7 separate regions of the Homo sapiens genome follow, and all the other regions are linked to region 5. The links are contacts of gene promoters, found by promoter capture Hi-C in blood cells and fetal thymus (Javierre and others, 2016). All regions are on one chromosome and are shown on one strand. Each heading gives the region's core, a stretch centred on a gene start or on the middle of the fragment in contact. The rest is flanking DNA. Distances are from core to core; before and after follow the strand shown.

Region 1 (4,237 bases), core at 1,664-4,163, 3.7 Mb before region 5:
CTCCTCTAATCTCCCCCTCCCAGAAGGAAACAAGCAAAGAAATCTCCAAAGGACCACAAAAACGCCTGGGCTATCAGTTATGTCCCCTTCAAGCTGTAGCGGGAGGGGAATTTGGCCCAACTTGGGTACATGTCTCCTTCTCCCTCTCTGATTTAAAGCAGATCAAGGTACATCTGGGGAAGTTTTCAGATGATCCTGATAGGTATACAGATGTCCTACAGGCTCCAGGGCAAACCTGTGATCTCTCTTGGAGAGATGTCATGCTACTGTTAGATCAAACCCTGGCCTTTAATGAAAAGAATGTGGCTTTAGCTGCAGCCCGAGAGTTTGGAGATACCTGATATCTCAGTCAAGTAAATGATAGAATGACAGCCGAAGAAAGGGACAAATTCCCCACCAGTCAGCAAGCCATCCCCAGTATGGCTCCCCACTGGGACCTCGACTCAGATCATGGGGACTGGAGTCATAAACATCTGTTGACATGTGTTCTAGAAGGACTAAGGAGAATTAGGAAAAAGCCCATGAATTACTCAACGATGTCCACCATAACTCAGGGAAAGGAAGAAAATCATTTTGCCTTCCTCGAGCGGCTATGGGAGGCCTTAAGAAAATATACTCCCCTGTCACCCGACTCACTCGAGGGTCAACTGATCCTTAAAGATGAGTTTATTATCTAATCAGCTGCAGGTATCAGAAGAAAGCTCCAAAAGCAAGCCCTGGGCCCTGAAAAAATCTGGAGGCATTATTAAACCTGGCAACGTTGGTGTTCTATAATAGAGACCAAGAGGAACAGGCCCAAAAGGAAAAGCGAGATCCGAGAAAGGCTGCAGACTTAGTCATGGCCATCAGACAAACAAACCTTGATGGTTCAGAGAGGACATAAAATGGAGCAGGCCAATCACCCGGTGGGGCTTGTTACCAGTGTGGTTTGCAAGGACACCTTAAAAAAGATTGTCCAACGAGAAACAAGCTGCCCGCTTGTCCATGTCTGCTATGCCAGGGCAATCACTGGAAGGTGCACTGCCCCAGAGAACAAACGTTCTCTGAGCCAGAAGCCCCCAACCAGCTGACCCAACAACAGGACTCAGGGTGCCGGGGGCAAGTGCCAGCTCATGTCATCACCCTCACTGAGCCCTGGGCATGTTTAACCATTGAGGGCCAGGAAATTGACTTCCTCCTGGACACTGGTGTGGCTTTCTCAGTGTTAATCTCCTGTCTCAGGGAGTTGTCCTCAAGGTCCGTTACCATCCAAGGAATCCTGGGACAGCCTGTAACCAGGTATTTCTCCTACCTCCTCAGTTGTGATTGGGAGACTTTGTTACAGATAGTAAGTATGCTTATCTAATCCTACATGCCCATGCTGCAATATGGAAAGAAAGGGAGTTCCTAACCTCTGGGGGAACTCCCGTTAAATACCACAAGGAAATTATGGAGTTACTACACACAGTGTAAAAACCCAAGGAGGTGGCAGTCTTACATTGCCAAAGCCATCGGAAAGGTGAAGGAGAAAAGGCAGAAGGAAACCGTTGGGCAGATGCTGAGGCTAAAATTGCTGCCAGGCAGAACATCCCATTAGAAATACCTACGGAAGGACCCTTGGTATGGAACAACCCCCTCCAAGAGGTTAAGCTCCAGTATTCCCCAACCGAAACAGAGTGGGGACTTTCACGGGGGCATAGTTTTCTCCCCTCGGCGTGGTTAACGACAGAAGAAGGAAAGGTACTTATACCCAAAGCCAGCCAGTGGAAAATACTTAAAACCCTCCACGAAACTGTTCACATGGGTATTGAAAACACGCATCAAATGGCCAAATCCCTATTTACAGGGCCAAATCTCCTCCAGGCCATCCGACAGGTAGTCAAAGCCTGTGAGGGGTGTGCCAAAGGAATAATCCCTTAGTTCATCCTAAGGCCTCTTTTGGGGAACAAAGAGTAGGTCACTATCCCAGAGAGGACTGGCAATTAGACTTCACCCATATGCCTAAGTCAAAGGGATTTCAATACTTGTCGGTCTGTGTTGATACCTTTACAAATTGGATAGAAGCTTTCCCCTGCAAGACAGAGAAGGCTCAGGCAGTGATTAAAGTCCTAATTTATGAAATAATTCCTAGATTTGGGCTTCCCCAAAGCTTACAGAGCAACAATGATCTGGCTTTTAAAGCCATGATAACTCAGGGACATTTCCAGGGAGCTAGGGATACAATATCACCTTCACTGTGCCTGGAGGCCACAATCCTGAGGGAAGGTCGAGAAGGCAAATGAAACACTCAAGAGGCACTTAAGAAAACTAACACAAGAAACTCATCTCCCATGGCCTACTCTTTTGCCCATGGCCTTGTTGAGAATCCAAAATTGTCCTCACAAAATGGGGCTCAGTCCCTATGAAATGCTGTATGGAAGAACTTTTCTCACAAATGAACTCCTACTTGATCAGGAAATGGCCAACTTGGTCAAAAATATAACTTCTTTGGCAAAATATCAACGAAACCTTAAAAACCTACCTGAAGGATGTCACAGAGAAAAGGGAACAGAGTTGTTTCAACCAGGAGATCCAGTGTTAGTCAAATCTCTCCCCTCTACCTCCCCATCTATAGATTCTTTGTGGGAAGGACCATACTCGGTAATCCTCTCTACCCCCACTGCAGTTAAGATGGCAGGAGTGGAATCTTGGATTCACCACACCCCAGTTAAATTTTGGACACCCCCGGAGGAACCTGCGGGACCATCAGCTCAGGAGTCCCAAGATCAGCCAGACCAGCCTCGATACACCTGCGAACCATTGGAGGACTTGCATCTCCTATTTTGGAAGGAAACATCCCAGACTAAAAAGGCTCTTACCTCTGATCCTGAGGAAAAACCCATTCCTCCTTAAAAAATATAAGTGAAAACCTACATAATCTTTAACACCTCTCTTTACCCCTTTAATGGAATCCTTTTACTATTTCATCATATTTTCTAGCAGCATACTAACCATACTCTTTGTGATAGGACTATATACTGTAGCCAAACGAGCTCAACTAACAACTTCTACCGAGGACCCCTGGACGGACCCACTGGCCCTTTCACTGGTCTAAAGAGTTCCCCTCTGGAGGACACTACAACTGCAGGGCCCCTTCTTCACCCCTATCCAGCAGGAAGTAGCTAGAGCCGTCATCGCCAAATTCCCAGCAGCAGTTGAGGTGTCCTGTTTAGAGGGTGGATTGAGAGATGAAGCCAGCTGGACTTTCTGGGTCAAGTGGGGACTTGGAGAACTTTTCTGTCTAGCTAGAGGACTGCAAATGCACCAATCAGCACTCTGTAAAAACGCACCAATTAGCGCTCTGTGTGTAGCTAAAGGACTGTAAATGCACCAATCAGCACTCTGTAAAAATGCACCAATCAGCGCTCTGTGTCTAGCTAAAGGATTGTAAACGCACCAATCAGCACTCTGTAAAAATGCACCAATCAGCGCTCTGTGTCTAGCTAAAGGATTGTAAACGCACCAATCAGCACTCTGTAAAAACGCACCAATCAGCGCTCTATGTCTAGCTAAAGGATTGTAAATGCACCAATCTGCACTCTGTAAAATGGACCAATCAGCTGTCTGTAAAAGCGACCAATCAGCAGGATGTGGGTGGGGCCAAATAAGGGAATAAAAACTGTCCACCCGAGCCAGCAGCAGCAACCCACTTGAGTCCCCTTCCAAGCTGCAGAAGCTTTATTCTTTCACTCTTAATAAATCTTGCTGCTGCTCAGTCTTTGGGTCTGCATTACCATTATGAGCTGTTAACACTCACTGTGGAAGTCTGCGGCTTCATTTCTGAAATCAGCAAGACCACGAACCCACTGGGAGGAACAAACAACTCTGGACATGCCACCTTTAAGAGCTGTAACACTCACTGCGAAGGTCTGCAGCTTCACTCCTGAAGTCAGCAAGACCACGAACCCACTGGAAGGAAGAAACTCCGGACACATCTGAACATCTGAAGGAACAAACTCCGGACATACCATCTTTAAGAACTGTCACACTCACTGCGAGGGTCCACGGCTTCATTCTTGAAGTCAGCGAGACCAATAACCCACTGGAAGGAACCAATTCTGGACACACTTCAACTTCAGCACACCCCATCTGGATAAAGGCGACTACCATACAGCTAGGGGCTCCAGCCAGACCTAAGTAGTTATCCTTGATTCCTCTTTCTCCTCCTCCCTCTGGCTGTCCTTCCCCAGACAACCTTACAATTCTGTTGATTCAAATG
Region 2 (4,077 bases), core at 935-3,434, 3.6 Mb before region 5:
GCTTCCTTGCAGTTTTCATCAGGAATGTGAAATTGTGGAGCTCACAGGGGTGGAGAACTCAAACCCCATTTATGAATTAATACATGCTGTTGAGGGTACCTCACTGTCTGCAGAGTGCTGGCGAATCTTTTCTACAGAATCCTGAGTATCTAAATAGTATATTTTAATTTCCCTTCTCATTGAACCAGTGAGAAAATACCATTTTCTATTTGCAAAAATGAATTTTGTAACAACTAGTATCTATATAAGATTACATTATTTACACCATCCTTAGGGATTGGCAGCACCTGGGGCAAGTTACAGTGTATCTTTCTAGTTCCTCCTCCTCCTTCCCCAGTCCCGATTTTTATCCAGGTGAAATCTAGTTACAGTGAGCATTAAGGGCAACCTCAAATGGAAACCAATGTTAGTGGGGATAGACATACGGTAGGGGACACGGGGAGATGACCTCTGCCTTAGTCTAGCTCTGGCCAGTTGGGCTCTGAAGCAGCCTTGAATCCTTCAGTCTCAGGACCTAAGCTATTGGGCTAGCATCATATTTTTTTTTTTTTCTTGGAATGGCTCTGGTCACTCAGGTCCAAAACCTGTAATGGTATAGAATATCTGGCTTCTCTGGCAATTTATAGGGGCCACGGAAAAGTAAATCAACTTGTAATTGTTAAAGGCATTTGTAGGCTGAAATCAGATAGATCTGGATTTGAATCCTAGTTTTTCCCATTGGAAGCCACTGTAGATGTCAGAAAAAATAACTAATTTCTTTATGTATTAGTTTTGATAGCTATGAAATGGAGAAAAAAACCTGTCTCATAAAATGAAGATGAGGATTAAATGAGATAGTAAATGCTCAATAAAAGGCTGAGGAGAGCATTTAGTAACAACTCGTTACAAATGCCACCACTCAAGAGTTTCCTTTTTTCCCTTCACTCATGCTGCAAACATTTATTAAACTGTTGCTTCCTTCTGAGAATATAGAAAAATGGAATAGATGTACAAAATGAAATGGAGGAGCTTGCATTTGAGTAGAAAAGGCAGCATCTACTTCAGCAAGTGTTATACAGGGGGTAAGCACAAAACAGGCATATCCCAGCCGAGTGGCCCCCTGAGGCCAGAGTCATTAGCACACCTGAGGATGTCAAAGAGGAAGTGTTTAAGCTAAGTGTTACAGGATGAATAGAAGTTTTCCAAGTAGTCAAGGGTGAAAGTATGTTTCCACTAGAGGGATAGCGCAAGAGTTTGGTTTTGCTAGAGTTTAAGGTAGTGGAGAAAGTGGTCACACAGGCTCGGGAAAGACACTGGGGCCAGGTGATGAGGGCCCCTGAATGTCACACTAAGGAGTTTGAACTCTGTCATACTCAGTGGGTCTTTACCACGTGAGGAAAAGCAGAATGACGTTAATGAGGTGATGCTCTTCCCACCTCTAAATGTGGCTGACCCAGAATAGAGACCCTAGAAAGCTCAGTCACCACTGATGCGTCCAACCCTTCACTTATACATGAGGAACCTGAGGCCAGAGATCAAGTCATTCTGCAAAACACCTGACCAAGCATGAACAAAACAAGAATAGGTTATCTAAGTCTAGTGCTTAAACTTCCTCCACATTCAGATCCTCCTTTAAATCCAGGCTGCTTCATCTAAGCCCTGCATTCCATGTACTGGATTCCAATGTAAGTACTGTTTCTGGGTGCTTTACTGAATAACTGCGTCTCCCCCATCTTCTGAAAGCCAGCTCTGTCAGCCCTGCCCACTGGAAGTGGGGACCTCAGCTAGGAAGAAGGATAGGGGTTTTCCAAGGAGAAAATGAGTCGATTGTAATGCCTTACAGATGCAGAAACAAATTCAAAACCCAAAACAGATTGAGAGACGTCCTTCTTTCCCTCAAATTTGCAATCGCTGTTTTAGCACTGGAAACCACCGCATCACGCAGTAGCTGCTCCCTGCTCTTATTACCCTCAGCCGCTACCCAGTCCTTCCTTCCCCAGGGCCTAGCAGGAAGCACGCCAGCCAAAATGTGTGGGTGTGCCTGTGTGTGTGCACGAGTGTGTTTGTGTTTTCATGTTACAGATACCTGGGGAACTCGCGCCCTAGAGCAACAGAGCAGGGGCTTGCTTGGGTCTCCTCCCTATCAGGGCCCAGAAAAAGGGGTAGAAGCTGGCTTCACTTCCAGCTTCCGCAGGCTCGGTTCCAGTAGCGCCTCCGCTTCTCCAGACCCTGGGCGCTTGCCTCTCTCCTCCCTTAGCAACAGGGAAGCTGTGGATACCAACGGAGGGTGGGAGCCCGGGAGGCTGCGGGTAGCCCGGGCGCCCAGGGGCGGCGGCGGCCCAGCCCAGGTGCCCGCGCACAGGGGACCTCGGTGCGGAGCCACCCCTCGAGCGCGACTGTCGCAGCGCCAGCGCGCACGGGGCCCCACGCACCCACCCTCCGCACCTGCCGCGGGGTCCAAAAGGGATCCTGCAAAAATGAGCCATTCTCACCCCGCTGGGTAAGTGACAACTGGAGCTTTTCCACGCTGTGGCAGGTGGCGGCTTCAGCCAGCTGCCCCTCCTCCTCCCTCCTGCTGCGGAGGGAAGGGGCGAGAGGGGAGCGAGGGGGAGGGCTGGGGAGAGGAAAATATATACGAATTCTGGGTTGCAGCGAGGATGGCAGAAATCCCAGGCATCATGTCTCCTCCCTCCCCTTCTTCGTTTCTTTCACCCACGTTCGCCCCTTTTGAAATTTTCACCCTGGAAGGATTAAAAAATGGAAGTGAAAAACGCATACATTAAGCAAGGACCTTCGCTGGGATCAAGAAGATCCTGTGGTGTGGAACATGTGTGTTTAGATGCAAAAGAAGAGGTTACCAAAATAAGAATTCGTTTGGAGATTTGAGAATGAGAGATGCATTCTCACCTTAGCTTACATATAAGCGAGGTGTGAGTTCATTCAGTATTGAAAGATGTTTCATTGGGAAAAGGGGGTATTATTTCAGGGATTTTTTTCTGCCCAATCTCAAAAGGACCATAAGGGTCTTTAAAAAGTATTTTAATAAAGGAAGGTTATATGGCACAGGAAAAGAGAGGGAGGAGTTGTGTGCCTGTGTATTTACTCATGATCTTCAGTTGCTTTAGGTAGGTGAACCCCTTAGATAACCTATTTTGGCAATTTTCAATGTATTCTAGAAAGAACACCGTCATTATTGGCTGTTGCAAAAAAAAAAAGTTTCTTTTTTTATTGGAAGGGAGAATATCCAATTTCCTCCTGAATTAAACAATGTAATGCATATTAGACGATTTTTTATTATGATACATCTAGTAAGAAGATAAATATCCTAGTCAATCTTGCAATTAAATTGAAGGCACTTTCCTTTTTAATTGCATTTATTGCACATTTTTAGGAGCAGCAAATTAGCAGAGGACAACATATTTGAGATCATTTGGAGTTTGTGATGTTTGAAGTACCACATTAGTCGTTGTGTTGGAACTTATACCCAAACTTCAAGATTTTACTTTTTAATGAATTCTCTGAGTGTAATGGCGTAAATGAAAATGTTTGAAAAAACTAAAGCCATATAAGGTGCCACGTTGGAAATCAGTTTCAGAACTTTTAGAAAAGTGATATAGCTATGATTACATAAACTTTTTGTTTTATCTCAAGTTGAATTTAATTTAGGTACTTTTTAACATTTTGATGCTGAACTCCTGTGCAATTTTTAGTTATCTGTGGGTCATGTAAGATGCTACGTAAGATGCAAATAGCACTATTTTTCAGCAGCTGATGTTTGCAGTATGTTTGCATTTGGGAAAATAAATATGTCAGTCATGGTTGTCTTCCTATGTTTTTCAAGTTTTTGGCTAGTTAGAATCTGATTAGACCATTTAATAATCTATTTTAAAATGTGAGAAAAATGTAGCTATTGATTAAACTGTGCATGATTAAGATTTCAGAAACTGAAGTCAAATTTTTCTGAAGTTCCATTAGTTCCAAGCCTATGGGGAAAAGGGAAATTTGTGATTTAATGCAAGAGTATGTTTCATGGTACTCTTCAGGAAAGGTGTTAAGATGGCAACAAATACTTTGCACTTAAATGGTAAGCTCCTGAAA
Region 3 (4,291 bases), core at 1,224-3,723, 3.6 Mb before region 5:
TACTTCTGGACCTTCTCAGCTTTATTTGCAAGCGTCACTTCTTCCACTTGCTTTTTAAATGTTGCTGTGCTTTACTTTCTGTTTTTTATTTTTCCTCTATGCATTCCCTCTGACTGGCATCTGAACCAGGCCTCAGTATCACTGGGTATTGGTGACCCTCAAGCCTTTATCTCTAGCCTGTTCTAGGCCCTAAGGTCCATATATTAGACTGACAACTGGTTATCACTCAGATGTTTTAAAAACTTCTCAAAATCGACATGTTCCAAATCAAATTATCCCCAATAACAAACCTGTTCTACTTCCTGTATTTCGTATCTCAGTGTATAAAGACACTGTGTACCTAGTTAGCCAAGCCTGGCAGTCATTCTTAATTCATCCCTCTGCCAAGAACCCCTTCCAGACTGAATGCACAGTGGAAAAGTAGCAGCACTTAGGTGCTGCTACTTGGAGAAGCAGAGGAGCAAGACTTAGCAGCTGCAAGACCAGGAAAAGTAAACTGGGTCTAGAGAGCCCTGGACCCCCAGAAATACTTGGAGAAGATTTTTCAGGGAACTCTATACCCTGAACCAGGCACTGGGGTCACTGAATAATAGAATTTGCATTATTACTATTTCTGTGGCCTCATTTGCCCTACCCGTTAACCCCCAGGTGGTGAGGACTAGAAATTAGGTTGCACACCTTTCTAAACTCATTAGAGAGGGAGGAAATCAGGTTCTAGGGCAGAGCTTCCAGAGCTTCCAGATGGTGTTTAAATTAACCTCTGAAATACATTTGTGGGTGGGGCACAGTGGCTCACACCTGTAATCCCAGCACTTCAGGAGGCTGAGGCGAGCGGATCACGGGGTCAGGAGATTGAGAACATCCTGGCTAACACAGTGAAACCCTGTCTCTACTAAAAATACAAAAAAAAAAAAAAAATTAGCCAGGCATGGTGGCATGTGCCTGTAGTCCCAGCTACTCAGGAGGCTGAGGCAGGAGAATCACTTGAACCTGGGAGAAGGAGGTTGCAGTGAGCTGAGATCATGCCACTGCACTCCAGCCTGGGTGACAGAGCGAGACTCCATCTCAAAAAAAAAAAAAAAATGTTGTGGATATTAAAATCATGTTCTTAGTCCATTTGGGCTGTTATAACAAAGTCCCTTAGACTGGGTGGCTTCTAAACAACAGAGATTTATTCCTAACAGTTCTGGAAGCTGGGAAATACGAGATCAAGGGTCCGACAGATTCAGTGTCTGGCAAGGATGTGCTTTCTGGTTCATGGATGGTGCCTTCTCATTGTGTCCTCACATGGTGGAAGGGCAGAGCTAGCTCTCTGGGTACTCATGACCTAATCACCTCCCAAAGACCCCACCTCCTAGTACCATCACCTTGGCGCTAGGTGCTTGTACCTGTAAATTTGGGGGGCATGCAAACATTCAGACTGTATCAATCATTTTCCCTCATTTCAATTTTCCCTGCTCTTTGACCTCATTCAGTCCCTCTCTTCATTTGATCTTTCATTGCCAATCTCAGTCCAAAGGCCCTAAGCAGCTCTCACATCCCACCAAGCTTAAGTTGGTCACTAAAGTACCCTCAATTATCTTGAATCACCATCCTTCTTCAAAAGTCACTCATTGAAACCTAGCCCTGGATGGAACTTGTAATCTACCTTCAACTTCCAGCTTTTTCACTACTTCGTATATTGTAGATGTAGCCAATCATAAGGAGCAGGTGCTGTTCTGCCTCCCCCTCCAATTTGCCCTTCAAACCCAGCACTCTCCTGCCTCTAGTTCTGCTCATGCCATTTATTTCCATTTATTACCTTTTCTCTGAGTAAATTTGAAAATTAATCATTTGATTAGTTTTAGGATGATCTGTGTATGTCTTTGTGTGCAGTATTTAGAAGATGAGATAGGCATCTTTCCCCTTGGAAGGTTAGTGAAATGTGGGAGCAGCTATTCATCAGATGTCACTCCAGTCATGATGGAAAGGGAATTGCTATAAACCTCACAATAGACAAAAAGATGGACTAGGTAAAACTCGTGCAGTTGCTTATCAGGAGGAATGAATATTTTCATTTTAATTTTAACTTTTTTTGCCCTAGAATTTAAGCAACTTGAGATGATGGATAAGACCTAGCATACCCCAGGCACTCAAGTTTGATGAGTGAAAGATTATAACAGGCCAGGTTTTCCTACCTGTACAATTTTCTCTCTCAGGATTAATATGTCACTGATCATTAGAGAAATCCAAAGCAAAACCACAATGAGATACCATCTCACACCAGTCAGAGGCTGACACGGGTGGATAACATGAGATCAGGAGTTCAAGACCAGCCTGGTCAACATGGTGAAACCCCGTCTCCACTAAAAATACAAAAAATTTGCTGGGCGTGGTGGCGGATGCCTGTAATCCCAGCTACTCAGGAGGCTGAGGCAGGAGAATCGCATGAACCCGAGAGGTGGAGGTTGCAGTGAGTCAAGATCACACCACTGCACTCTAGTCTGGCAACAGAGCAAGACTCCTTCCCCCACCCCCCCCCCCAAAAAAAAAGTCAAAAGATAACAGATGCTGGTGAGGTTGTGGAGAAAGGGAATGCTTATACAGTGTTGGTGGGAGTGTAGATCAGTTCAACCTTTGTGGAAGACAGTATGGTGATTCCTCAAAGACCTAAAGATAGAAATATCATTTGACCCAGCAATCCCATTACTGGGTATATACCTAAAGGAATATAAATCATTCCATTATAGACACATGCACACATATGTTTACTGCAGCACTATTCACAATAAGCAAAGATGTGGAATCAACCTAAATGCTCATCAATGATAGAATGGATAAAGAAAATGTGGTACATATACACCACAGAATACTGTGCATCTATAAAAAAGAATGAGATCATGTCCTTTGCAGGGACATGGATGGAGCTGGAGGCCATTATCCTTAGCAAACTAACATAAGATCAGAAAACCAAATACCACACGTTCTCCCTTATAAGTGGGAGTTAATAATAAGAACACATGGACACAGAGGGGAACAACACACACTGGGGCTTGTCAGAGTATGGAGGGTGGGAGGAGGGAGAGGGTCAGAAAAAATAATGGGAACTAGGCTCAATACCTGGGCAATGAAATAATCTGTACAACAAACCTGTAGGACATAAGTTTACCTATGTAACAAACCTGCACATATACCCCTGAACTTTAAATAAAAGTTAATATATTTGTGTATGTATGTGTGTGTATATATATACATACATATGTATGTATACACATTTAATCTGAAATTTAAATTGTATCACAGAAGAACACACAGAGGTGTATATATACATGTTTGTACATTAACTGTAAAGTAGAAATTTGACATTTGACATTTGGATCAAGTATGAAAAAGCTGGTTTTATGTGCAATCAAAGCTTAGCTCTGGGCACCTGCCATCTTACTTCAAAGTAAAGCTTATTTTTGATTATTCAGAGAAAAAAAGGAATTAAAAAATAAGTAAAACCAATCTATTAAAAATTATTTTTGTTTATTATTTTATTTAGGTGAAACAAGAATCTACTTCTTTTACCCTTTTTCAATTTTTTACCTTTAAAACTTTTAACAGCCTAACTCACATTCTAAATACTGAAAGTGCATAACATAGGTCAGTGTTAATTTTTTAAATGTCAATTCAACTTAGTAGAAAAAAGCAATTGATGTGTTTCAGTAATAACTTCCACTTGTTTTAACTTGTTATGTTAGCACTTGCAATTCTGTTTAATTGGCATGTAATTTAATTGCCACATAAGTTATTTAATTATATACTACAAATGGGAAAAGTTGTTTATAGGCAATCATATCTCTTTTGTTAAAATCTGGAATACTAGATGTTCGTCAGTCTTGTGCTTATAGGTAATTCCTTCATGCTGATTATTTGCATTGCCTGATTGAGTTATATCACATATTAACTCATTCTGTCATTGTTTCTAGAGGGGTGTATATTTATATTTTAGTAACAAATTCAGACAGTTAAATTTCAATCTACTTTATTATTAAAGACAAAGGCACTAAGACCTGTGTTTCTCTCTTCATGGAAATTACAATATCACAATAATTCACAGATGTTATTTCTTCAGGCCAGGATGCCTTACTCTCTCTCCTTTCTTTGCCTAATTTCAGTATATTACTTTTGAAGGTTTACCGTAGGTGTTACTTTTACTTAGAAGGCTTTTCTGACCTCACTAATGATCAGGTGGCTTTTCTCTGTGTTCCTTTCAGTACCGTAACAATATAGGATGAGACAGAACTAGGGTATAGTCTTTATTTTTCAG
Region 4 (4,112 bases), core at 1,077-3,576, 3.7 Mb after region 5:
TTCAGTAGAGACATGGTTACACCATGTTGGCCAGGCTGGTCTTGAACTCCTGGCCTCAAGTGATCCTCCCGCCTTGGCCTCCCAAAATGCTGGGATTACAGGTGTGAGCCACCGTGTCCAACCACAACTGTTTAATAGAGCCCATGTTCAATCACTCAGTGATATGCAAAGATTATAACTGTTTACCAAAAGGTACTAATGTATTGATAGGCTATTGGTAGCAAATCCTTAGCTCAGTGCCCAGGAGCGAAACTGAGGGTGTTTGGTTTAAAGAAAATAATTATCCATCACATTAGAACTGTCTGTAATCTTATTCCAGACTAGGGGAGAATCTGGGCATAGCATATGGAAGTATAAATTTAAGAAACACAACATTGGCTGACTTTGATGAACTAACTTATATATAGCTTCCAGAGCTTCTGTTTGGTTTTTATTTAATCCTTGCAGTAATTCCTGAAAGGTAGGTGTCATGCCTCCATGATATGATAAAAGGTATGCTAAGTTCTATTCCTGGCTGTGTCATAACATATGGGTAAGCAGGACTTTTTTTATATTCTTAGATTTCTCATCTGTAAAATGACTAGGTGGACTCAGTACCCAAGATCCCAAGATCCTGTCAATTCAATATAAACTTGCTCTAGGAAGTTTTTTGTTTTTTTTTTGCAGCATAGATGTAACTGGAGGAACTTTTAAGATAGCATTTGTCAAACAGTAAAGGGCAGCATCCAGGGAGATATTTGAGCTCTAAGGCTAACTGAATCACCTGCTATCTTTGGAAAGAAGCAGGGCTCCCCAAATAGCAAATGACTTGTTTGGTGACAATTGCAGATTGAGATTATACTAAAATAATGGATCCTTAGGCCTGTGCTTTGTTTCTGTAAAAAGAGGAAAGGATCATATTCTATAGTTAAGACCTGAGAATTATATTTGGAAATAAATGGTTTAGTATTAAATAATGAAACCAGTGTGTGTTTGTGGATAGTTCTATTAGTAGTGAATCCATGGCCTCCTTTCCATATACAGGTTGGTTTGAAAATTGGAGTATAAGGATTTTAGGATTTGTAGAAACACGGCTATTGTTTTGATTTGCTCTAAGTGCTAGTTGCTGAAACAAAGCATAGAGGAACAGTTCTTTTATATTCCAAAATTTGAACCCTGGTTGCTGACAGACATCCTAGAGGATTACCTTCTTGTATGTTATTAAGAGTTACATATTGTGGGAATTATGGAAATTAAAAATGTGGTTTAGGAGAAGATAGGCTGAGGATTTTACATAAGAGGGTAGTTTTTAAACAAGGTAGTGTTTTTAAGAAATGTGTATTTTAGTATTCGTAAAGCCAGTTCTAGATTGTATTACTGATAAATGATCATTTAAGAGTTCATAAGTATGAATTCCATATTCCTTACTTGTCTCTAATTAGCAAACACTGAATTCCTGGTCTCTACCAAGTTGCTTAGTTACATAGGAAACTAGGGTACCCTCATCCTTGAATAATCTTTCTCTAAAAGATTACAAGGTTAATTTTCTCAATTAAAATCATAAATTTAAAATACTTTTATGTAATATCAGCTCTCTACCAGGTATAAAACTTGAAAACCTTTTCACAGGGAGAATGAAGTTGAAGAGGTAAAAGAGGAGGGTCCAAAAGAGATGACTTTGGATGAGTGGAAGGCTATTCAAAATAAGGACCGGGCAAAAGTAGAATTTAATATCCGAAAACCAAATGAAGGTGCTGATGGGCAGTGGAAGAAGGGATTTGTTCTTCATAAATCAAAGAGTGAAGAGGTAAAATTAAGTTTTGTCGTGTTTGAAAATGTTCAGATGTGACTTGAATTGTATTTATAATTTTTGTTTTAAAATTTCACATGGGTTATTTGTCTGTTAAAGCTTTACATAGGATCATTTGGGGCAGATAATTTGCTTTATAAGGAAAATAAACTGTATTATCACATATTCTAAGAAATTTAGTCCTTTGATCAATTTGTAATTATGTTTTATGTGGTAGAGTTACTTTTTCCTAAAAAGCTGTTAGTGGAGTATCTTGTAGTTATTGGTGTTCAGAAATATGATAGTTCTTTTCAAAGTTGTGGTTGTATTTTTGAAATCTTGCCAAACTGGGGATCATTAAAGGGCTGTGGTATTATGGTGTTAGGTTGAAATCTTGACATTTTCATATGGTTTAACCTAAAATGTAAGTGACTTCATTTAGAATTCAACTTTTGAAACTGTCTGCCTATACCATATATAATGGCCAGGACACTCAGTAAATGGCAATGTGCATTTTGTCTAAGGAATGACGACTTTAAAAACCAAAGTATATGTGGGTTTTACTTAAGAAACATGGAAACTAGTGAAAATACAGTTGACTTGTTGAACAACATGAGGATGCTAGGGGCACTGACCCCGCAGATCAATGCACATGTAACCTTTGACTCTCCCAAAACTTAACTACTAATAACCTGTTGACTGAAAGTCTTAGTGATAACATAACCAGTTAACACATTTTGTATGTTGCGTATTATATACTGTGTTTTTACAGTAAAGTAAGCTAAAGAAAATGTTGAGAAAATATATTTACTGTTCATTAAGTGGAACTGGATCATCACAAAGGTCTTTATTTTGGATAGGAAGAAAAGGGATTGGGCTTGCTTGTCTCAAGACTGACAGAGGCAGAATGTTCAAAGCCACGTTGTTCAAGGGTCAACTGTATTGGAGAAAGTCACATTGATGGCTTTTGATTTGGTAGCTTCCGTTTAAGCTTTGGGGTGTGTTCTTAGAGGAATGTTTCAGTGCGGCTTCCTGTTTGGCTTTAAAAACTCATACAAGCCCTAACTATATTATTTCTTCTCCTAAATTCATTTTCTCTATCAGCTTCCTTTAACCTTTTGACATTTGTGTTTGATTTATTCATATCATAAATTGGGCTGTGCCAGAAATCCAGACTGAGTTTTATCATCCTAAGGTAAAGTTAAATTAAAATATTGTGAGGGCAAACCCTTTCAATAAGGTATTAGTTATTTTTATTTTTTTTTTTTGAGACAGAATCTGGCTCTGTCGCCCAGGCTGGAATGCAGTGGCACCATCTCTGCTTACCGCAACCTCCACCTCCCGGATTCAAACAGTTCTTGTGTCTCAACCTCCTCAGTAGCTGGGATTACGGACACTCGCCACCATGCCCGGATAATGTTTGTGTTTTTAGTAGAGATGAGGTTTCATCATGTTGGCCAGGCTGGTCTCAAACTCCTGGCCTCAGTGATCCCCGCCTGCCTCAGCCTCCCAAAGTGCTGGGATTATAGGCGTGTGCCACCATGCCCAGCCAATAAGCATAATTTTTTAAACTGCAAAATGGCTATAAGACAAACTTGGAAACATTTTAAAATAAAATGGAGGTTAAAAAGATTAAAAGTTTTTTTAGGTTTAGAGATGATTTTTAACATTTACTTCATATGAGTAGTAAATGAGGACATTGTCTTTTTTAAGTCCTGTAGAAAAAAAACTGCATTAGAACACGTGGTTTCAGCCAGGCGCAGTGGCTCACACCTGTAATCCCAGCACTTTTGGGAGACTGAGGCGGGCGGATCACCTGAGGTCGGGAGTTCAAGACCAGTCTGACCAACATGGAGAAACCCCGTCTCTACTAAAGATACAAAATTAGCCTGGTGTGGTGGTGCATGCCTGTAATCCCAGCTACTCAGGAGGCTGAGGCAGGAGAATCACTTTAACACAGGAGGCAGAGGTTGCAGTGAGCTGAGATCACACCACTGCACTCCAGCCTGGGCAACAGAGCAAGACTGTCTCAAAAAAAAAAAAAAAAAAAAAAAACAACACTTTAACTTTCACATGTCTTCATTCTCGTGACAAATGTGAGGTAGTTAAGGGGAAGGAAGAAACTATTTACAAATGGAGAACTGTGTTACCGTGTTATTGACAGAGCTCAGAGTTTCTGTTTTCTGCTCCTCATTGTCTGAGTGCTCTAGAAAAAAGGTCGGACACAGTGGCTTACACCTGTAATCCCAGCACTTCGGGAGGCTGAGGTGGGCAGATTGTTGAGTTAAAAGTTTGAGACCAGCCTGGGTAACATGGCAAAACCCTGTTTCTACAAAAAATATAA
Region 5 (3,914 bases), core at 490-2,989:
TAAAGCAACAATCATAACTAGAGAGTAGTTGAACAATTTCTCTCCTAAACATAATCATACTTGCATAAAGACATTTCAGTCAATGATGAACCACATATACAAAGGTGGTCCCATAAGATTACAATACCATATTTTTACTGTACCTTTATATTTAGATACACAAATACCACTGCGTTACAACTGCCTACAGTATTTAGTACAATAAGATGTACTAAATGCAGGTTTGTAGTCTAGGAGCAATAGGCTATACCATATAGCCTAGGTGTGTAGTAGGCTATACCTGCTAGGCCTGTGTAAGCACATTCTATGATGTTCACACAACAGCACAATTGCCGAAAGTGGCATTTCTCAGAACATATCCCTATCATTAAGTGAGGCATGACTGTATATGCTGTATTCTAAAAAAAATTAATGCATTTATATACCAGAATCTATGCATAAGAATGCTCATACTGGTGTTGTTTGTAATACCAAGCCTGAGAAACAGAAGGAATAAACTGTCACAAAACCACAAAACGGAATAGTATCAGTATACATCAGTGCAAATAAAAGAATTACACCTATACACTTCTACATGCAACTACCTAGGATTAATTTAGAAGCATAATGAACAAAAAAAGAGTACAGAATCAACTATGCTTACACAGCTCATAAAATTAAACATACATGTATGTTAGGTTTTGAAGGGAAGGCAAGGATTAAAGAAAGAGAGGGTGGCTTAACAACAAATACAGGATTTATGTCCAGCATAAGACCTACAGAGGTGGGAGACCAGCTTAATGCCAGTGCCCGTTGCTTCTTACAGGCTGGGGTGATTTATAGGCCTGGGTGGGAGTGGTCTGGGGGGCCATGGCCTGCTTCCTGGGAACATGTTGATAAGGTGTTCCCAGGACGAGGCGGCTCTGGCCCTTGTTCCAGTGGAATGTGGTACTTTCTCCCAGCAGAGTATAAGAGGCAGCCTGTTTCTCACGCCCGAACCCCGTGGAATGTTTCACTTTGACTAAGGTCTGCAAAATGGCAGGGGGGCTTACAAAAATGGTGCAGTTTGGACTAACAACGTACATAAATTTTTAAAAAGCAAAAGAATAAATCCCAAATATGGGAAAGTGTTATCTGTGGAAGAAAGTAATGGGATGGTATCAGAAAAGACACTGGTAATTTAAACAGTGTTGACAATGTCTCAGTTTTAAAATTACCAGCTGGTTCCCATGTATAAGTTGCTTACTTATCTGTTACACCTATTTATGTATATATAAAAATAGGTTTCCAAACGACATCCCATGTGTATGAAATAACAGAATTTTTATGCCTTATTAAAATAATTTCTCTAAACACTTGAAGAGCCCGAGCCGCCTCTTACCCTAAACGAACCCCACGCCCCTGAATTGATCAGTCACTTCCGCCTCCACCTTTCCAGCTCCACCTAAGGAAGCGGAAGTACTTTACTCTTGGGTCCTCCCACCTGTAGGGGGCTCTCCGAGGCTTCTAGTGCCACGAAGGCCTCCTGCCTGGGTTGTCCTTATGGCGCCTGTGAGTTTAGTTCTAGAAAAGATATTTGTATTTTAACTTTTCCATCTAACAAACAGTAGCACAGGCATCTTAGTCTGGACAACAACGTACAAGCTGAATTCCTGGCTAGTTCCCTCATTATCAAACCCTGACACAGTAGTAGGCGCGAGTCAGGCAGTGTGGGGACAGCCCCGAGTTGCCGAAAGTCCCCGGCCCGTTTTCCTCCTGTGAAGACATAGCTGCGGGTGGCTGTGCTGGTGGCGTTCAAGATGTCGACCAAGAATTTCCGAGTCAGTGACGGGGACTGGATTTGCCCTGACAAAAAGTGAGTTCAAGAAGGGTCCTGAATTGGGACGGAGTTTGTTAGTGGAAGCTTTCCGAGGTCCGTCCGGCATTTTCCTTTTTTATGATTTTCTGTGCCTTAAGACGGGTTGAGGCGGCGAACCGCCAGTTCCCTGGCGGGAAGAAGGCTCCCAATCTCCTCACGAGAGAGGTCTTTCCGGGAGCCTTTGTTCTAGATATGTCTTCAGCGTTTCCTCGACATTACCTCCGCAAGGTAGCCTCTCTTTTTAGAGTGCGAGATGGCCTACCTTTTTGCCCCCACCCCCCTCCCCCGCCCCGGCCAGGTTTTAGCGATAGGAAACCTCTCCAGTCAGGCCAGCTTGGTGTTGGATCTCCCCCACGTGACTTTTCTCTGCAGAACTTTACTCTTGTTCACGGAAAATATTGCTTTCTCGCACTCGTCCTTTTGCCTCTTATAGTTCACCTTGTTTTGTATTTTTACTCAAACTTTTCCTCCATACTATTTTCCCCTTTTCCGGAAGCTCTACCCTCTTCGGTTTGGGAAATTCTGACATTTTCTTTGTGGATCATTTCTCCACAAGAATTGGGCTTTTCGCCTCCTTAGAGCCGAAAAGGAGGGAAGAGGCCTGTGTTTTTGCCTACTCAGCCCTTAAGATGCCTGCAGCAGAGAAGCACGTGTGTTAGTGGCTCTGCTTTTTGACATTGTTGCCAAAGCCAGTACTCGACTAGATAGTTAATCAGATTTTTTTTGAAGGGTGCACAAATAGGTGTATCTATTCGGAAATAACATGGAAAATAATTTAATGTACAACTCATGTTCACATAAAAGCCTTTTATTTGTTGTACCTAAGTTAGCCACAAATAGGTTTTGATTGTAAAAAGCAAAAACTTTGAAATAAACCTGGGTTTAGTTAAAATTCTATTACTTATTTAACTGCTAAAAAAGGAATAGAATTTTTTTTTTAATGAAAACATGAAATAACATGGATAGGGTGTGTAAACAGTGACGTGTAGCAAATTCTAATTGGTGGCTATTGATAGTAATTTGATATTAAGATGACCTGAAGGAGTAGTTCAAGCCTAACAAATGATACTGAATAGAACCAAAGTTATATGTTATGGATAGTATTGCTCTGAGTGGTAAGACATTATTGAAAACGTTCAAAAGATTTAGAACAACAACTTCTGACTTTGTTGTTACCTGTAAAATAATGTGCTTTTGTCAGTGTCTTTAATGACAGCACACCCAGAGGTAGGACTCTCAATGAGAGTTCATTTCAACTCATTTACAAATATATGAATAGAATGTTGTTTGTACAATATGTTTAAATGCAGGATAAATTTTCAGAGTATATTTTCCATGCTTAATGGAGTTAAAAGGAATATTTTTAGGGGAAAAACTTAACCTAAATATTATTTAGAGTGTTTCACTTTAGTGTCATCCCATACTTCACATCTGTATTGTATTCTAGTATAATGCCTTAAAAATCAGCTTTTTAAAGTTTAAGCATTCCATGTTATCCAGAGCATTTAACATACTTTTACCAATATACACGTACACTTCTAAGGTCATGTGAGTGAACCAGTAATTCTTTAGGTTTGAGTTTGTTGAGTATAAGCATAAAGTCTTACTGTACTACATGTGTTGAGATTATTGGTTTTGGTGGTTGTGTCATTTTTTTCAGCGAAGTCTCAGAGGTTTGAGAAATGCCCTGTAAAACTCAGTTTTCTTACAATTATTGAATCTTTTTGTATTTTTAGTCAGTACAACCTATCATATTTGGTTCCTTAGCATCCTACCTACTGCATGTAAAAAGATAATTTCATTAAGATCCATGAAGCCCTCCTTGATTTATAAGTTTTTTTCCTCATTGGTCCACCGCTAGGGTTTAAAACTCCCTGGTAGCTTGTAAGTAATTAGTGAAGTGGAGTTAACTCTCACTTTCAACTTTGTAAAGGGATTATAACTAATGATATGTGCTAATGTGAGGACTTGAGGCAGAGATCCTAAGTAACTTAATCAAGATCACATGACTGGTAAATGGAGGATTGGGATATCTTATTCTGAATTTGTGGCTCCAATCAAGTATTTTTCCCCCAGT
Region 6 (4,293 bases), core at 24-2,523, 3.4 Mb after region 5:
TATATATTGTTTGTTATCTGATTCTCCTCCTGCCCACTCCACTATCCAAAAATATGGGGTAGAATTTTGTTTTGTTCACTGATTGGTCCCTAAGTGACTAGAACAGTGCCTTATACAGAGTGGACTCTTAATAAATATTTGTTTTGTGGTTTTTTTTTTTTTTTGAGATGGAGTCTCACTCTGTCGCCCAAGCTGGAGTCCAGTGGCGTGATCTCGGCTCACTGCAAGATCCGCCACCTCCCAGGTTCACGCCATTCTCCTGCCTCAGCCTCCCGAGTAGCTGGGACTACAGGTGCCCGCCACCATGCCTTGCTAATTTTTTTTGTATTTTTAGTAGAGATGGGGTTTCACCATGTTAGCCAGGATGGTCTCGATCTCCTGACCTCATGATCCACCAATAAATATTTGTTAAATCAGATATTATTGAATGAATAAGGTACACAGATTTTAATATATAATTGATGAATTAGAACATAAGAGTTATATAATTTGTTGTCTTTTTTGTATATTAGAAAGGAAGGTGTCTTGATCAAATACTGTTTTGGGGCTTGTATTTTTTTTTCAGTCCTCCAAGACATCAGAAAACTACTTGTATTGTTTTAGTTACAGAGGATTGTGCACCCTTATCTGCATTCATATTATTCTCATAGTTCCTCCACCCCCGTCCAACTGTTTTTCTTATAATTTTTTCAGGGGTTATAAACTGGCCCATTTTGTAAGCTAAGGATTTTGACCTGTACTGTATACACATATAATACCCAATAGATTAAAAGGTGCTTAATTGCCAAGCTTCAAGTCTTGTTCTTTCAATGTAGCACAAAGAGATTATAATGATGAGGAAAACAACTCTGAAAGGTTTTATGAAGGTCAGTTTTGAAGTGGGAGATTTGAAAGCAAAGATGGGTTATGTTGCGGAAGCAACATACAAGAAACACAATTGGAGATGAAATTAAGGAAATAAAGTAGTATTTAGGAGACTGAGAATGAAAGAAAAAGAAATAAAAGAGAATAAGAGCATTCTTTACTACTATTTGAACTTCTACCTCTCTCTCTGGCTTTAGTGCTTGTAAGCATTTAATCCTGATTAACTGGAAATTTCTGCCAGTAAAACTTATTCTTTGAAATAGCTTATAAGTTTTTTTTGTTCTTTGAATAATATGCATTCTTTTATTTTGGTTTGGTCCTCATGTACTTTGGCAATAAAATGTCAGTCTCAAAGTCTGGAAGATATTAAATATTAAAACAAGATCATTTAGGATCAAGCTCTGTAAGACTGTGATGTTTTGAAGAGGGTCTGGGACATGGTCTTTTGGAGTGCTCATTTCTGTATAGCTGGTCTTAGATGTGGGCCACAGCCATGTTTGTGTGACAGTAGTCTTTCTGGCTCCCATGAGACTTTGTATGTAAAGGTCCAAAGTAGCCTCATTTTCAGTAACCAAAGAATGTAGTGAATAGTCTGCTATCTGGCTATCCATTATGAACACTTTACTTCTGTGCTTTGTGGACCATATCAGTTTGTGGCAAAGTGATGGATTGTGTTTAACATTCTGTTGTTGACCTGTAAGGATTTTTGCCATATGTTCCAGCTCATTCCCTTAAGATATAGGAGGGGGCAATCTTATTAGTATCATTGTCCACTAAGCAGAAATGTGTCAGAGATTTTGCTTTCTCAGCTGGAGACTCCCTCTTGGCAAGCCGTCCTCCCTATTTTAGGAAAGCATCGCCATCAAATACAAGAAGGCCAGTTTATAAGCTTATTTGTTTATATTGTATATCTGGTCTGTATTTATGGAAGTTTTGAAATGATGCTGTAAAATTAAGAACTATGTGGCTACTTTGCAGACATAGTAACAATAATAAATCTAATGTGATGTCCCTCCAAGAATGTGGCTTGAATGATAGAATCTTTAGCAGGTTGTTTACCCTCGCCATTCCTCAGTTTCCTCATTTGACAAATATTTGTGAACTCTTTTTAATTTTGAAAAGAACTCCCTTTCCCCAAAATCCACAGTAGGCATAATCCCCACATATAGATAGATAAAAGTGGAAGTGTTGTGGCTGCAGTAGCCGGATAGCAGTGGGGGTGAAGGGCAGGGATTGGCAAGTTTAGGCTCCCCCTCACTCCCCTCCTGCAATACACCCCATAGCCTCTGAGCCATGCATATTGGTCACAATGGGAAATGTCTGGTTCCCTAAGACCCTTCCAGCTCTAACATTTTTTACTTAATAATTTTATTATTCTATAATTACTCTATATTTTTCGCAGTCACTGAGAAACCTCAAATACCTTACCTTACCACAAAAAAAGTTATTTTTCTGGGCCTTAAAAATTCAATCACCAGATAATGTGTCTAAAGAATTTAAAAAACATTCATGTTCCTCTGCTTTGATATCAATTTTCAAACATTTCAATCTGTTTCCATAGGTCAGTTGAAGTTATGTTACAACTTGCCTTATTAACCTTAATTTATTGTCTGGTTACCAAATGCTATGGAGTATGATTTGGCACTGTGTCTTAATAAACAGGTCACACCTGGGAGCTAGTGAGACCTCTCCCATCTGAGAAGAAGGAGCTACAACAGATGGTAAAACGACTGAAAACCAGGTGGGGTCACTGTTTAATGACCATCTGAATTAAGTTTGGTTAATTTGGCGTGTCCCTAATTATCCCTAGCAACTGGACCCTCTACTCCATTTTATAAGTTTGGATTTATATCTTTTATGTAAACTATCAAAACAAGTCCATCTGTGATCCTGAAGCTGTATTTGCCTTAAATCTAACCACAGGGGAAATCCTAATTTATTTGGTTCTAGCTATGAGGAGTCCTTAAACACTGGGTTTTTACAGTGCTCTGCAATTTACTTTTTCTCAGGTTGTCACCTATGATATGAGCATTGCCCTTCATTCTTCTCCAAGTTTAATGAAAAGACACTTAGCATAATTTCCAAAACTCAGACATGTCAAAACTTCAACCTATGTGCATCCCTTTAGAAGATTTTCTCATGAAATCTGTGTGCAGCAGTGAGTTGGCTTCCAGAGATGTTTAGAAAATTCAGAAGTTATGCTGTCCTCAACACTATAATAGATTCAAGGCCTGCCAGCTCCTTTAAAGACACTTCCTCCCCTACCCCCACCAGACCTTATTTTAGTTTGTTTATTTGTTTTTGTTTGTTTGTTTTAGGCAGGGTCTCCCTCTGTCACCCAGGCTGGAGTGCAGTGGCGCAATCTCAGTTCACTGCAGCCTCCAACTCCCAGGCTCAAGTGATCCTCCCCTAGGCTTTATTTATTAGTAAGAATATTAATTTGTGCTGGGATGGTGGCTTGCGACTATAATCCCAGCTACTCAGGGGGCTGAGGAGGGAGGATCACTTGAGACCATGACATCATGTAAACCAGGAGTCCAAGACCAGCCTGGGCAACACAGTGAGACCTCCATCTCTAAAAAAATTAAAATAAATTTTTAAAATATAAAAAGAAGAAAAAATACTAATTTGCTAAATGCTTATCATGCTTAGCACTATGGTAAATTTTTATTTACATGATGTCACTAAGCCCTCACAACAATCTATGAGATAGATACTATTATCTTCATTTTATTGCTAAGTAAGCTGTAGCCTACTGGAGAGGTTAAACTAGTTACTAACTCAAAAGACCCCTAGCTAAATGGCCAGGGCAAGATGCAAATGCACATCTGTGGGACTGCAAATCTCACATTCTTAACCACATATTATGCTTCTCTAGAACAGCTGTGGTTCACGTGGCATCAGAGTGTAGTGTTCAGAATGCAGACTCTGGAATCAGGCTTGGGCAAGCCATCTAAGCTCTTTTGCCTCTTTTCTGACAAACGCTGTCTCTTAAACTTATGATGAAAATCAAATGAGACAAAATACACACAGCACTTAGAGTACACTGCATGTAGCAGGACACCATGAATATTAATTAGATGGCACCCATTTTCCAATGTCCTTTCTAATTTTCTTTGTTCTTAATTCCTTCATCTAAGTAAAATATTGTATTTATTTCCATTTTCTCTAACATTTGAGGCATCATTGCTAACAGCAAAAGTACTGACTGGACTTCCTGGTCCGTCCTTACTGCTGTGAAAATTCCCCTGAATTTTGATGGCAGCCACAGGTAGATCCAATATACATGTTCCCTTTCTAACTATAGATGAACCGAGGTTCCCCCATCAGTGCATTTTAGATCTTTAGGCCGTTTTTTGTTTTTGTTTTTGTTTCCTTGTTTGTTTGAGATAGGGTCTTGCTCTGTCGCCCAGGCTGGAGTGCAGTGGC
Region 7 (4,113 bases), core at 654-3,153, 3.6 Mb before region 5:
TATCATTTATCTCTATATAAATTCCTTAAGAATCAGTCACTCTGTACACATACACACACACACACACACACGCGCACACAGATTGATTGATTTTAAAGAGTTGACCCATGAAATTGTGGAGGACTGGTGAGTCTAAAATCTGTTGCGGTGGGCCAGCAGATGGGAGACACAAGGAAGAGGTGCAGTTTAAGTCCATAGAAAGTTTGCTGGCTGAATTTACTCTTGCTCATCGGAGGTCAGTCTTTGAAAACAAAAGCCTTCAACTGATTGGATGAGGCCCACCCACATTCTAGAGGGTCATCTGCTTTACTCAAAATCCAGCTATTCCATTGTTAATCTCATTCGAAAAAAAAAAAAAAACACTGTTTCTGTAACAGAGTAATGTTGGAACAAATATTGGGTTCCTTGGCCCAGTCAAGTTGACACATAAAATTAACTGTCACAGCGACTCTGTGCAAGGATTCAGGAGGGGATTTGCCTGCTTTTTCTCCCCTCACCCCAGGCCCCAGGGATTTATGAGAATGTGTCTTTAGTGTTTGAGGGGCATCTTATAAGAATTTTTGAAAAATTTCTTTGGGAGGTATTTCATATCCCATAGTTTAACACTAGTCATCCTATCCCCTTATGTTTATGTTTTACTTTAACATATTGTCCTCAGTCCCTTCAGCTCTAAGCAAGAGTGTGGGAGAAAGCTTCACTTATTGCTCATTGTTGCCACTTCTCAGCTGTTGGTGCATAGCTGGGAGCAGGACTCTGGTTACTGTTCTCTTTCCCAGGTGGAGCATAATGTTCTATAATGTCTCTGCAGTGTGGCCACCCCACATTGTTTGAGGAAGTAAGAGAGCCTTCCTGAGAGTCAGATCTGGATCTCACAGCATCTGCTGGCTTTTGACATTGGCACCGTCCATCTGGAATAGTGAGGCATCCCCTCATGCCTTGCTGCATGTCCCTTCTTTTCAGTACATACTAGAAAAGTAGTCATGTGAACTGGAAGTAAAAAGAAAATGCCATTTCACCAGAGAATCTGGACATTTCAGGGGGATGACATGGGAATCTTTGTGATAGAATTTATTGCATTTCCTACTCTCTGACCTTTGCTAACTCAGCATTCCTCCCTGAAAGAGTACAAGGCTGGTGCAACCTGATGTTCAGAGACATGGAGAAGAAAAATTTCTTTCTTTCCTTGGGCAAAAAAAATAGCTACTGTGTTTACTTGGACATTACTCTAGACCACAGAATAAAGACTGAGCTATATAATAAACCTGCTTTGAGGCCCTTTCTGTGGGGGATATATGGGAATGAGAGATTCCAGATCCTCCAGGCTCAGCAATTTTACTTCACAACCCACAAGGACTGTAGCCACTCAGAAGTAGCACCACATAGTCATCCCAGTGTCCAGCAGCATAGTGCCTGGAACATAAAGACTCCCAATAAATATTTGTTCAAGGAATAAATGAATTGAAGGCTTTGTTTATTCTGTGGAGCTTAGGGAATATTTGGGGCTGTATGTCAGGTTGCATTTGCTGTTTGTGTAAGTGTTAGCCAGACTAGGGGTAGAAATTCCTTAAGATGATGAAAACACCCGAGATTAATTAGCTTCAAAAAATAAGGTGATGTAACTTATGCTTTCCTTTGCAGTGCCTGTGTGAAAGCTGGAGAGAGTGTTCTGGTTCATGGGGCAAGTGGAGGAGTAAGTATTTTTTTTAATGTATTTTGAAACAAGCTTGGGTTTATGGGTTTCACATTATAGTTCCTTTGGTCATTTTTAAAAGTCAGATTTATAAATAGAGTCAAAGGTGCTTTTTTTCTTTATGTAGTAAAACTTTTGATTTTGGTCTTCTGAAGGTGATGTTTTGTCATTAGTTTAGCATTTCTTGGTTAATAAACTCAACAGAGCACCCCTTCAAAAATATGTTAGATTTTCCACCTGTATTGGGTGTAGACTAAGATAAACTGGCCTTGTTTTTGCCTTCAAGTAGCATATGTTATAAAAATATTTATTTAGAATTTTAAACAGTTCTTTAAGGTTGATATTAATTCCATATTCCCTTAGATAAGGAAACTAAGGCTCATTAAAGCTTACCTATGTTGCCCCAGACAGCACGGTAAAGCCACACTGTGAATTCTTAGTCCTTCTATCTCCCTTCTGCTGCTTGCCTGCTGCACTTTGATGACATCCATGGAGTGCACGTATACAGCCCTGTCCTTAACACCACAACCCATGGCTGAAAATGCTAATGTGGGGGAATGGGGGAGGAGGACTCAGAACTTAAAATAAGCCCTTCAATGAAATCACCCAATGCAGGGCTGTCAGAAACCTCTTCGAGAAACTAGCTGCCAATCTGCCTCTCAGGAGCTTAGAGGGAAAAGTTAGAGCTCTGCAGTTAGAATTTAACAAGAAATCCACATGAACTCTGTCACTGGATGCTTTGGAAATTTTGGAGATAAGATTTTGCATTTTAAAAATAAAAGGCCTGGGGCTAGATGCTTACTTTGAGGAGGCTGTTAACCATTTCAGAGCACTGTGTATTCTGGAGAGTGGATTGAAAGAAGTAACCTATTAAATGGCACATAGTCCCCTGAATAATGAGTGGTATCCTGAAAATGTGAATTTACCTTTAAAAGTGCCCAGGTAATTTCAGTCCTTTTTGTCTCTCTGTTTCTTTAGGTAGATGAATCACGAGGTTTCACACCTAGCTTCCTACACTTCAAATAGATCAATTCTAAAGGATTTCACAGATCAAACAATTTATGAAAAAACACTAGGATTGTCTTTATGGGGCTTGAGACAATATGACAGATATACCTTGTCCAAAACTCCCACTGTTTAACTTCACTGAAGAGGCTATTTTTGGGTTAAATTAAATTTAACCCTAAGTAACTAAAGGGTCTGTCAAACACATACATTTATTTAAATTACCCTGGCTTTCAGAGAGCTAACTTAGTGCTCTGTGCAGAAGGGAAAGATTTCAGTAGGAAGGGGAGAGAAGAGTTTAAAGAAAATCTCTTTATATTCCCTTTACCCTCTTGTAAAAAGCCCAGTTGCTTCACCATGATTTTTTTTTAAGGTAAAATCCACACTGTTCTCTGAGCTGGCTGAGTTTGTTAAATCCTCAGCTGGCAGGGATAGGCTGGTGACCTGGTGTGTGAAGTGCTTCTGATCCTCCCTGTCCTATCAGAGGGAAACAGTACTGGGTTTTGCCTTGCTTCTGTTTGTACTTTCTGTCCTCATTTAATTCGAATTCCTTTGGGATTATGTTGTGTGTTTAAAATGGTGTGGAATTTATGAACACAGCTATTATCCAGATATGTTGGTGAGGAGTGCCCTATTTTAGTGTTAGCAAAATAAGTAGAAGAAAAATAGTTGACACATAATGGTGCATAATCTGTTGAAGGATCATTGCTGGTATAATTGTTGACAAGAATAGAATAAACAGTGCCTTTTTAAAAGAGCTATTGAGTGCCCTTTTAAAGCAGTTAGAACACAAGGAGATGTAGTTACGTTAGCTTTTTAAAGTGTGGTTTTATTAGAGGTCTTTTATTTAAATTTGAAAATTAAAATAGAAAATTAATTGTGCCCACCCCATAGTGGGTTGTGTTTTATCTAATTGGATGTCTCTCTCCTCCATCAGACAGTGAGTTTCATGTATTTGTTTGTTTCAGTTAAACAAATTCCTGCCATAACCTGGCTGAGTCCAGCCTCGTTATTCCCATGTGCCATACAATCTTTAAGGTCCACTTCAGGCCTGGAAGTCTGTTACAGCTTTAATCTGTTTCTATCATTATTTTTCATCTTAATTCTTTTCTTGCCGAACCCGGTCCTCCCTGTAAATCACTGGTTATGAGTAGCGGGTGATTTTGCATCATTTCTCCTTCCGCTCTGGGACATTTGGCAATGTCTGAAGACATATTTGGTTGTCACAACTTGGGGAAGGGGTTCTGGCATCTAGAGAGTAGATATCCTTCAATACATGGGATAGTCTCCCACAGCAAATAATTATCTGGCCCAAAATGTTGATAGTGCCAAGTTTGGGAAACTCTGCTCTAAATGTATGTGACACTTATTTGTACCATCATTTGTCATCTAATCAGATATATTTCCTAGTATTGTTA

The links. Contacts are between HindIII fragments. The CHiCAGO score rates a contact against its expected background, and 5 or more counts as called.
Region 1: a fragment that was not itself captured here is called in contact with the fragment with the promoter of ZRANB2 in region 5 in 3 of 17 cell types (activated CD4 T cells, total CD4 T cells and total B cells); the score reaches 8.9 in activated CD4 T cells.
Region 2: a contact is called between the fragment with the promoter of ERICH3 here and the fragment with the promoter of ZRANB2 in region 5, in 1 of 17 cell types (total B cells). The highest score is 6.3, in total B cells.
Region 3: a fragment that was not itself captured here is called in contact with the fragment with the promoter of ZRANB2 in region 5 in 9 of 17 cell types (total B cells, naive CD8 T cells, naive B cells and 6 more); the score reaches 29.8 in total B cells.
Region 4: a contact is called between a fragment that was not itself captured here and the fragment with the promoter of ZRANB2 in region 5, in 4 of 17 cell types (total B cells, total CD8 T cells, total CD4 T cells and 1 more). The highest score is 10.6, in total B cells.
Region 6: a fragment that was not itself captured here is called in contact with the fragment with the promoter of ZRANB2 in region 5 in 2 of 17 cell types (total CD8 T cells and activated CD4 T cells); the score reaches 7.3 in total CD8 T cells.
Region 7: a contact is called between a fragment that was not itself captured here and the fragment with the promoter of ZRANB2 in region 5, in 8 of 17 cell types (activated CD4 T cells, total CD8 T cells, naive CD8 T cells and 5 more). The highest score is 15.4, in activated CD4 T cells.

Annotation. Positions count from the first base shown.
Region 1 is chr1:74,739,881-74,744,117 of GRCh38, reverse strand. All of the region lies in intron 3 of TYW3 (tRNA-yW synthesizing protein 3 homolog), which reads right to left. Among named protein-coding and RNA genes, the nearest start is that of TYW3, 8.8 kb to the right of the region's middle. The HindIII fragment of the contact is 1,566 bases long and covers 2,131-3,696 here.
Region 2 is chr1:74,671,899-74,675,975 of GRCh38, reverse strand. It overlaps ERICH3 (glutamate rich 3), which reads left to right and starts at 2,184. Exons shown (of 15, transcript NM_001002912.5): 1 at 2,184-2,479. The coding sequence starts at 2,457. The HindIII fragment of the contact is 21,395 bases long and covers 1-4,077 here.
Region 3 is chr1:74,694,126-74,698,416 of GRCh38, reverse strand. No RefSeq gene overlaps it. Among named protein-coding and RNA genes, the nearest start is that of ERICH3, 22 kb to the right of the region's middle. The HindIII fragment of the contact is 1,846 bases long and covers 1,551-3,396 here.
Region 4 is chr1:67,417,683-67,421,794 of GRCh38, reverse strand. SERBP1 (SERPINE1 mRNA binding protein 1) reads left to right here. Exons shown (of 8, transcript NM_001018069.2): 6 at 1,609-1,786. Among named protein-coding and RNA genes, the nearest start is that of SERBP1, 11 kb to the left of the region's middle. The HindIII fragment of the contact is 871 bases long and covers 1,891-2,761 here.
Region 5 is chr1:71,078,860-71,082,773 of GRCh38, reverse strand. ZRANB2 (zinc finger RANBP2-type containing 2) reads left to right here and starts at 1,739. Exons shown (of 10, transcript NM_203350.3): 1 at 1,739-1,834. The coding sequence starts at 1,779. It overlaps ZRANB2-DT (ZRANB2 divergent transcript), which reads right to left and starts at 1,450. Exons shown (of 4, transcript NR_046217.1): 1 at 1,361-1,450. RefSeq lists an enhancer at 1,500-1,789. The HindIII fragment of the contact is 3,322 bases long and covers 1-1,884 here.
Region 6 is chr1:67,675,449-67,679,741 of GRCh38, reverse strand. No RefSeq gene overlaps it. Among named protein-coding and RNA genes, the nearest start is that of GADD45A, 7.6 kb to the left of the region's middle. The HindIII fragment of the contact is 964 bases long and covers 792-1,755 here.
Region 7 is chr1:74,712,156-74,716,268 of GRCh38, reverse strand. CRYZ (crystallin zeta) reads left to right here. Exons shown (of 9, transcript NM_001889.4): 5 at 1,639-1,690. Among named protein-coding and RNA genes, the nearest start is that of CRYZ, 19 kb to the left of the region's middle. The HindIII fragment of the contact is 355 bases long and covers 1,726-2,080 here.